2 separate regions of the Homo sapiens genome follow, and region 1 is linked to region 2. Evidence: promoter capture Hi-C in 16 types of primary human blood cells and fetal thymus (Javierre and others, 2016). All regions are on one chromosome and are shown on one strand. Each heading gives the region's core, a stretch centred on a gene start or on the middle of the fragment in contact. The rest is flanking DNA. Distances are from core to core; before and after follow the strand shown. Region 1 overlaps CAMTA1 (calmodulin binding transcription activator 1). Region 2 holds the start of DNAJC11 (DnaJ heat shock protein family (Hsp40) member C11).

The links. Contacts are between HindIII fragments. The CHiCAGO score rates a contact against its expected background, and 5 or more counts as called.
Region 1: a fragment that was not itself captured here is called in contact with the fragment with the promoter of DNAJC11 in region 2 in 1 of 17 cell types (monocytes); the score reaches 5.9 in monocytes.

The regions. Positions count from the first base shown.
Region 1 is chr1:6,881,145-6,884,685 of GRCh38, reverse strand. All of the region lies in intron 3 of CAMTA1 (calmodulin binding transcription activator 1), which reads right to left. Among named protein-coding and RNA genes, the nearest start is that of CAMTA1, 97 kb to the right of the region's middle. The HindIII fragment of the contact is 3,861 bases long and covers 118-3,541 here.
Region 2 is chr1:6,699,787-6,703,579 of GRCh38, reverse strand. It overlaps DNAJC11 (DnaJ heat shock protein family (Hsp40) member C11), which reads left to right and starts at 1,764. Exons shown (of 16, transcript NM_018198.4): 1 at 1,764-1,851. The coding sequence starts at 1,780. RefSeq lists a silencer at 1,528-1,977. The HindIII fragment of the contact is 16,969 bases long and covers 253-3,793 here.

The DNA of each region.
Region 1 (3,541 bases), core at 799-3,298, 180 kb before region 2:
ATGGGCTCGCTTCCTAACAGTGGGGTTTGTAGGATTTTTGAGGGTAATTTTTGAGAAGAATTCTTTGGTTAATTATGATACTGCAGGCAACAAACTAAAGGGAAACTGAAGTAAGCTTAAACCTGATAAAGGTACAGAATTGGGGCATCCATTAACCTCCTCCTTGGAGGCTTTCATGAGAGGCTCACATGATTAAGATGAAAAGTAACATGTATGCTGCTGAGACGCTCCTGTTTACTCTTTCAAAATATTTTACTTTTTCCTGGCCTACGAGGCTAAAAAATACCTGATATTATCAATTTTTATTCATCTTTAAAAACACATTGTGTGGATCAAAGCCAAACAAAATTGTGTGTGTGTGTGTGTGTGTGTGTGTGTGTGTGTGTGTGTGTGTCTCTAGAGAATAAGCTAAATTCTCTGCATGGTAAAAGGCTGCTAGGTTCAGCCATCGAAGCACATGACCTCTACCAACTGCCATGGTGTCCCCTCCTTCCTCTTCAGCCTTGCTCCCCTCAGAAGGAGTGAGAAATGGTTTTAGATCTACACGGCCAATCCTTCATGAACCACGACCTCCTTGTTCCTTTAAACACTTCCCCTGTGATAATCCTGGACTACACTCCATGACCATCCCATGAGCTGTCCAGTAAGGCAGCCACTGAGCACCTGAAATGTGTCTACTTCAAATTAGAAGGTAATGGAAATATAAGATATATACCAATTTCAAAGACTTCATACCAAAATAAGTAACTTCTCAATTTTTATACTTACTACATGGTCATGTAATGTAGACTTACTGGGTAAAATAAAATATATTACAATATATTATTAAAATTAGTTTCCTTTATTTTTACCTATTAAAAATATGGTTACTAGAACATTAAAAATTACACGTGACTCACTGACACTGCTACTGTACAGCAGAGCCCCTGACCTTGATGTAACCAAAACTGACCCCTCCATGATACCGATTTCAAGCCCTCTATCTACTCTTCGACTATCCCAACTCCAACAACTCCTCGATCCTATTCCTTGAATCCACTGACCCCATGACCTCTTACTGACCCTCAGCTCCTTCATGCCTCCTGGCTCCTTGCCTGGCTTAGACCACATGGTCTATCCTCAATCCTCACATCGATTCTTCTGCGCAATGCTCAACTCCCTTATGCCTCCTCCCTCCACTGTACTCACCTGGCAAAATCCTAATCCCAGGTTAAATCCAACTCCCTGCCCTCTCCTGCCCTCTCCTGCCCTACACTTAGGCTGCCGAAAGCAGAATTCCTTCAGAGCACCAGCTCAGCTCCCTATCCAGTCGTTTTTGCTTGAACCACCTGGAACTGGGCTTTTATTCTCACCATTTCACTCATACAGCTCTTATCAAAGTCACCAACGATCGCCCCGCTACCAAGCCCACAGTGAAACCCGTCTGTTTCTTGCTCCAGCTTTAGCAGCATCTGACATAGATATCACTCTGCTTTGAAACATGAGCTTCCTTGTCCGGGCGCGGTGGCTCACACCTGTAATCCCAGCATTTTGGGAGGCCAAGGCATGTGGATCACTTGAAGTCAGGGGATCGAGACCAGCCTGGCCAACCCAGCAAAACCCCATCTCTACTAAAAATAAAAAAATTGGCCAGGCATGGTGGCACACACCTGTAATCCCAGCTTGGGAGGCTGAGGCAAGAGAATCACTTGAACCCGGGAAGTGGAAATGGCAGTGAGCTGAGACCAGAGGGACATTCTGTCTCAAAAAAGCAAAGCAAAGCAAAGAGAAACATGCACTTCCAGGACACCCCCATCTCCTGTCTTCCTTCTCTGATTGCTTCTCATTCTCCTTTGCCTCCCTTCTACCCGCTTCCCCTTAACATTGGGTGTCCCAGGGCTCCATGTCTGGACTTCTCTATTGTATACACTCCCTAAAAAATTTCATCCAGTCCTACGGCTTTTAGAACCCCCTATATGCTGAAAACACTCAAAATCTAGCTCCAGCCTCAGCCTCTCCTTGAAGTTACAAACTCAAACATACGACTGCCTATTGAACATCTCCACCTGATCTTACAGTCAACAGGTGCAAAACACAACCTACATTCTCTTCACCCCTCCTCCCCAACCTGCTGTTCTCAGTCTTCCTGATCTCAGTAAAGAAGAATAGCATTCTTCCAGTTACTCAGTGCAAAAACACAGTCATCATCCCTGACTCTTCCTATATTAATACAGTCTACCAGCTCTTCCTTTCAAACATAACCCATATATGACCATTTCTTCCTGCTCTGTCCAAGGCACCATCAGTTCTTGCAACAGTCTCCTCACTGGTCTCCCTACTTCTATCCCAAACCAGGGATCAACAACTCTTTTCTGTAAAGGGCCAAACAGTATAGATCTTTCAGCCTCTACAGGCCATATGCTCCCTGTTACAACTACTTAGCTTGGCTGTTGCAGCTCAAAAGCGGCCTCAGATAATACACACAAGAGTGTGGCTCTGTTTCAATAGAACTGGAACTGGACACTGAAATTTGAATTTCATATAATTTTCATGTGAAATAAAATACTGATTTTTTTTCAACCACTTAAAAACATACAAAGCATTCTTAGCTTGCTAGCTATATAGAAACAGGCAGTGGGCCAGAACCTGCCATGGGCTGTGGTCTGCTGGCCCTGCCCTGGAAGATTCTCTGCACTACATTCAGAGTGATTATTTTATTTTATTTTACTTTTATTTTTTTGAGACAGAGTCTCACACTGTCTCCCAGGCTGGAGTGCAGTGGTGCGATCTCCACTCACTGCAACCTCTGCCTCCCAGATTCAAGCAATTCTCCTGCCTCAGCCTCCCGTATAGCTGAGATTACAGGCAACCGCCACCATGCCCAGTTAATTTTTCGTATTTTTAGTAGTGACAGGGTTTCATTATGTTGGCCAGGCTGGTCTTGAACTCCTGACCTCAAGATCCGCCCACACTGGCCTCCCGAAGTGCTGGGGTTACAGACGTGAGCCATCATGCCCAGCCCAGAATGATCCTTTCTGTCATGTCTTTTTCCTGCTCAAAAATCCTCAGGTGGCTTTCCTTCTCTTTCGGCAAAACCAAAAGACCGTGCCAAGCCCTGCGGGGCTGCACAGGACACTACTTCCTGGCTCCTCCCCTCCCGTGCCCCTTCCCACGCTCTGCACAGCAACACAGGCCTCCTTGTCATTCTCCTGGCTTCTCTCTCGCCATTGCCAAATCTATCTCTGTCTATCTCAGCGCCTTTGCTTTTGCAGTTCCCTCTGCTTGGAATACTCACTCTAGACACCTACGTGGTCACGGTGTTGCTTCCTTCAAGTGGTCACAGTGTTGCTTCCTTCAATTCACCTCATGAGAGATACCCGCTCAGTCACACTAGAATAGCATGCACAAACAGACATGCAAGAACCCTCTCACTGTGTACCTTGCTGCACTGTTCACCACACTATCACTGACATTTCTTTCCTTCTTTAGAAATAAACAGATTGGGCAGTTTTTTAAAAGAGAAACAAAATACCACAGTGATTAAGGGCATGAAATCTGGAGT
Region 2 (3,793 bases), core at 515-3,014:
AGAATCGCTTGAACCCGGGAGGCGGAGGTTGCAGTGAGCCAAGATCGTGGCACTGCACTCCAGCCTGGGCGACCGAGTGAGACTCTGTCTCAAACAAAAAAAAAAAAAAAGAAAGAAATTCTTAAAGACTGTCAAATGTCAGCATGCAGTTTGGCCCTAACCACAGCTCTTTTCTCTGCAAAGGAGAAAAAGGCAAAGCCCATAACATTGCTGGAAGAGCTGATGGACCATGGAAGCTGTTGTGGAGAAGCTTCACACAACTAAAGAAATAGCCCTTAATTTACAACCTGGGCTGACAGTTTGTTTCAGGCTGACTCAACCCACCCGAACAATCTGTCTCAGCACACCGAAGTGTCTCATGCCAAAAGATCCTAAGAGGGCTGGGCAACTTGGAAGGGATGAGACACAGGCCCAGATGGTGCACATCTGGCCAAAAATTAGAAAGAGAAAGAAATCAGCCTCTCAAATCCACAGACAGGTGTTCGGGGCTTCCCAGGAGACCTGCTTATGAAGGGCAACGGGGATGGCTATGGACTGGTGGTTAGTGAAGGAACAACAAAGGTTTCTGAGACTTGCGCAGGTCAGCGGGAACCAAACAGGTGGCAAGAGTGGGCTGCTGTCCACCTTCCCTTGACAATGGCGTCATTTCGAAGACCTTTAAATTATTTAGATTGTTGTAACCAAGACATCTTTAATAATGCACCAAACAGCAGGCACCAGGTTGAAATCAATTAGACTCCACCGATAAATTATAAGGGAGAAATTTACAGGAGAATGGCTCTGGGGTAGGGACTGCAGGTACACATGCCTGCCAGAGACAATTATATCAGGAACCAAATAGTTATTGCTTTGTCATTTAAGCAGCAGAAAAGATGGCCAGGTGCTCCTAAATTAGAGCAATAACAAATAACTAAAATGAGGAGGCCTGTTCTGGGCAGGAAGGCTTCTGGGTGGCCAAGAGAAAAGACAATGGAGGTAGGAACAAATGTCATTTGGGGGATATCTAGGATCCGGATGCACCCTGCACTGGGGGCACCTCGCGCTTCTTCCAGGAGTTTGGGGCCAGTGGGGTAACAGGTGGTATCACAGGGGTTTGTCTCCCAGAGGATGACAATCTCCTGGAGGTGACTTCAAAGTTTCCCTTTCTAGGCAGGACGCGGTGGCTCATGCCTGTAATCCCAGCACTTTGGGAGGCCGAGGATCTCCTGAGTTCAGGAGCCTCAGACCAGCCTGGCCAACATGGTGAAACCGTGTCTCTACCAAAAATACAAAAAAATTAACTGGGCGTGGTGGCGCGCGCCTGGAGTCCCAGCTACTCGGGAGGCTGAGGCAGGAGAATCGCTTGAACCCGGGAGGTGGAGGCTTCAGTGAGCCGGGATTGCGCCACTGCACACACACCAGGCTGGGCGACAGAGTATGACTCCGTCTCAAAAAAAAAAAAAAAAAGCAAAGTTTCCCTTTCTAGTACAGGAAAAGCCCTAGGGAGTCCTGGCTGGATCTCAGGCCCCCGAGGACGCAGCCACGCCGCGTGCCACGCGTCCATTGGGAGCACGAAGAGACACCCGCGTGGTCACCCCGCCAGGGCTGCCTAGGCGCCGCGTCCCGCCCTAGGCCGCGCGGGGGCGCAAAGCGCAGGCGCACTCCCGCCGGGCGCGGACGGCTCCGGGCCGCCAGGGGCCGCTGTGGCGCAGCCGGGCTGGCCCGCGCTGTCCCTGACGCGGATCACTGGCCCCTCTTGAGCACGGCCTTGCCGGTTTGGCGGGGTGAAAGGTTGCGAAGATGGCGACGGCCTTGAGCGAGGAGGAGCTGGACAATGAAGACTATTACTCGTTGCTGAACGTGCGCAGGGAGGTGAGGCCAGCGGCTGGACGCTCTGGGGGCTGAGGCCGAGCCCGGTCGTTCGGGAGGGCCGGGCTGGCGGTGGCCGCCCCACCCCCGCCACGGGAGGCTCGGGTCCGTCGGGGAGGCCGCGTGACCCCGGCGACGTGCACGCCAGCCGCCCGATGGAGGCGTCCCCACCGCCCAGACCCTCCCGCCGGGGGTTCCGGGGCCAGCCTCCGCCCCAGCTCCTGAAGGCCAGTGCGCCGCGTGCACTGTGTCCGGGTAGGGCCAGAGGCCCCCGCACGCTCAAGAGGAAACGGGGGCCCCGAGGAGGCCACCGTAGTGGGGTTAGCAGTCCTCCGAGACCCCGTCTCGCGCTCAGCCCACATACTCGTCCTGGCTGAGGGGCTGTGTCATCGCCCGCCGCCAGCAGGATGGCGAACTGAGTCTCACCCACCAAGGTCAAGGCCACTAGGGAACGTCCTTAGGGCTTTTTCCGGTTCCCGAGTCTTTCGTGGGGACGCTCTGCCTCTGAAGTGGGTCCAGCCTCAGAGGCATGCGTCTCATGCCCTCTTTCATTCCCCTGGACCCGATGTCCAGAAATTGCAGGCAGAGCCTCCGGGACACAGACCCTCGGCTCGGAGGCTGCAGATTAGGAAGAAGCCCTAGGCCAGAAAAGTGGTGCCCTAACAACAGCTTCAACATTCACACCAAGCACTTGTACCCTGTCTCCTCAACGAATAAAAGATAACATGAGAGAGTCTCACATAGCCTGGCAGTAGTAGGGCCCCACTACACTCCTTTGTTCTTGACTAGTCTGGAGTTGAGATAGGTGTGAAGGGCGAGAAGGCTTCCAGGGTCAGGTCATGAGGTGGATCAGTTTCTTTAAGCCGATGGGTCCAGACTTTTCAGCCCTGCCAGAGAATTCCTAATTCCATCTCTCAGGTTTTCCAGTGGTAATGAAAGCTAGCCAAGTTTGGCTATGCTAACCAAAGCGGGTTCAGTGTGTGTTGTCAGTAAATATTAGTCTATGTGATGTTAATAATACAAACTTATCTTGTGTGGGACCACTATGCTGAATGAACTTTGTACTGTTATCTCATTTAATTCTGAGGATAGCTCTTAAGGTAAGTATTATGATAGCCCTTGATTTACACTTGAGGAAACCAAGGCATAGAGAGATTAAGTAGTGTGTCTAAAGTCACACTACTAGAAAGTGCAAGAGCCTGAACTCAACCCAGGCAGTCTGACTCTGGAGCCCAGCTTGTGAGCTCCATGCTAGTCTGTCACCTTACCTTACCAGTCCTTGGACTACAAAGCTGCTAGTTCTGGTACTGTATCCTTGAGTGTCACGCGCGTCCGTGTGAAGAGACCACCAAACAGGCTTTGTGTGAGCAATAAACCTTTTTAATCACCTGGGTGCGTATGGGCTGAGTCCGAAAAGAGAGTCAGCAAAGGGTGGTGGGATTATCATTAGTTCTTATAGGTTTGGGATAGGCGGTGGAGTTAGGAGCAATTTTTTGTGGGCAGGGGGTGGATCTCACAAAGTACATTCTCAAGAGTGGGGAGAATATTACAAAGTACCTTCTTAAGGGCGGAATATCACAAAGTACATTATCACAAGGGCGGGGAGCGTGTATTGTCATAAGGCCAATTGACCAGTTAGGGTGGGGCAGGAGTAAATCACCATGGTGGAATATCTTCAGTTAAGGCAGGACCTGGCTATTTTCACTTCTTTTGTGGATCTTCAGTTGCTTCAGGCCATCTGGATGTATATGTGCAGGTCATAGGGGATATGATGGCTTAGCTTGGGCTCAGAGGCTTGATACTGAGCACCTCATGAAAGAATCCCTCGAATGTATGGGCCACTGTACTATGAGAATGTCCAGTGAAATATCTTTGGGAATTGCAGATTTTGTTAGGCTGCCATAGGGCACCTGGGGGTTCTTGTTCTCATTAATCAACACTTCGG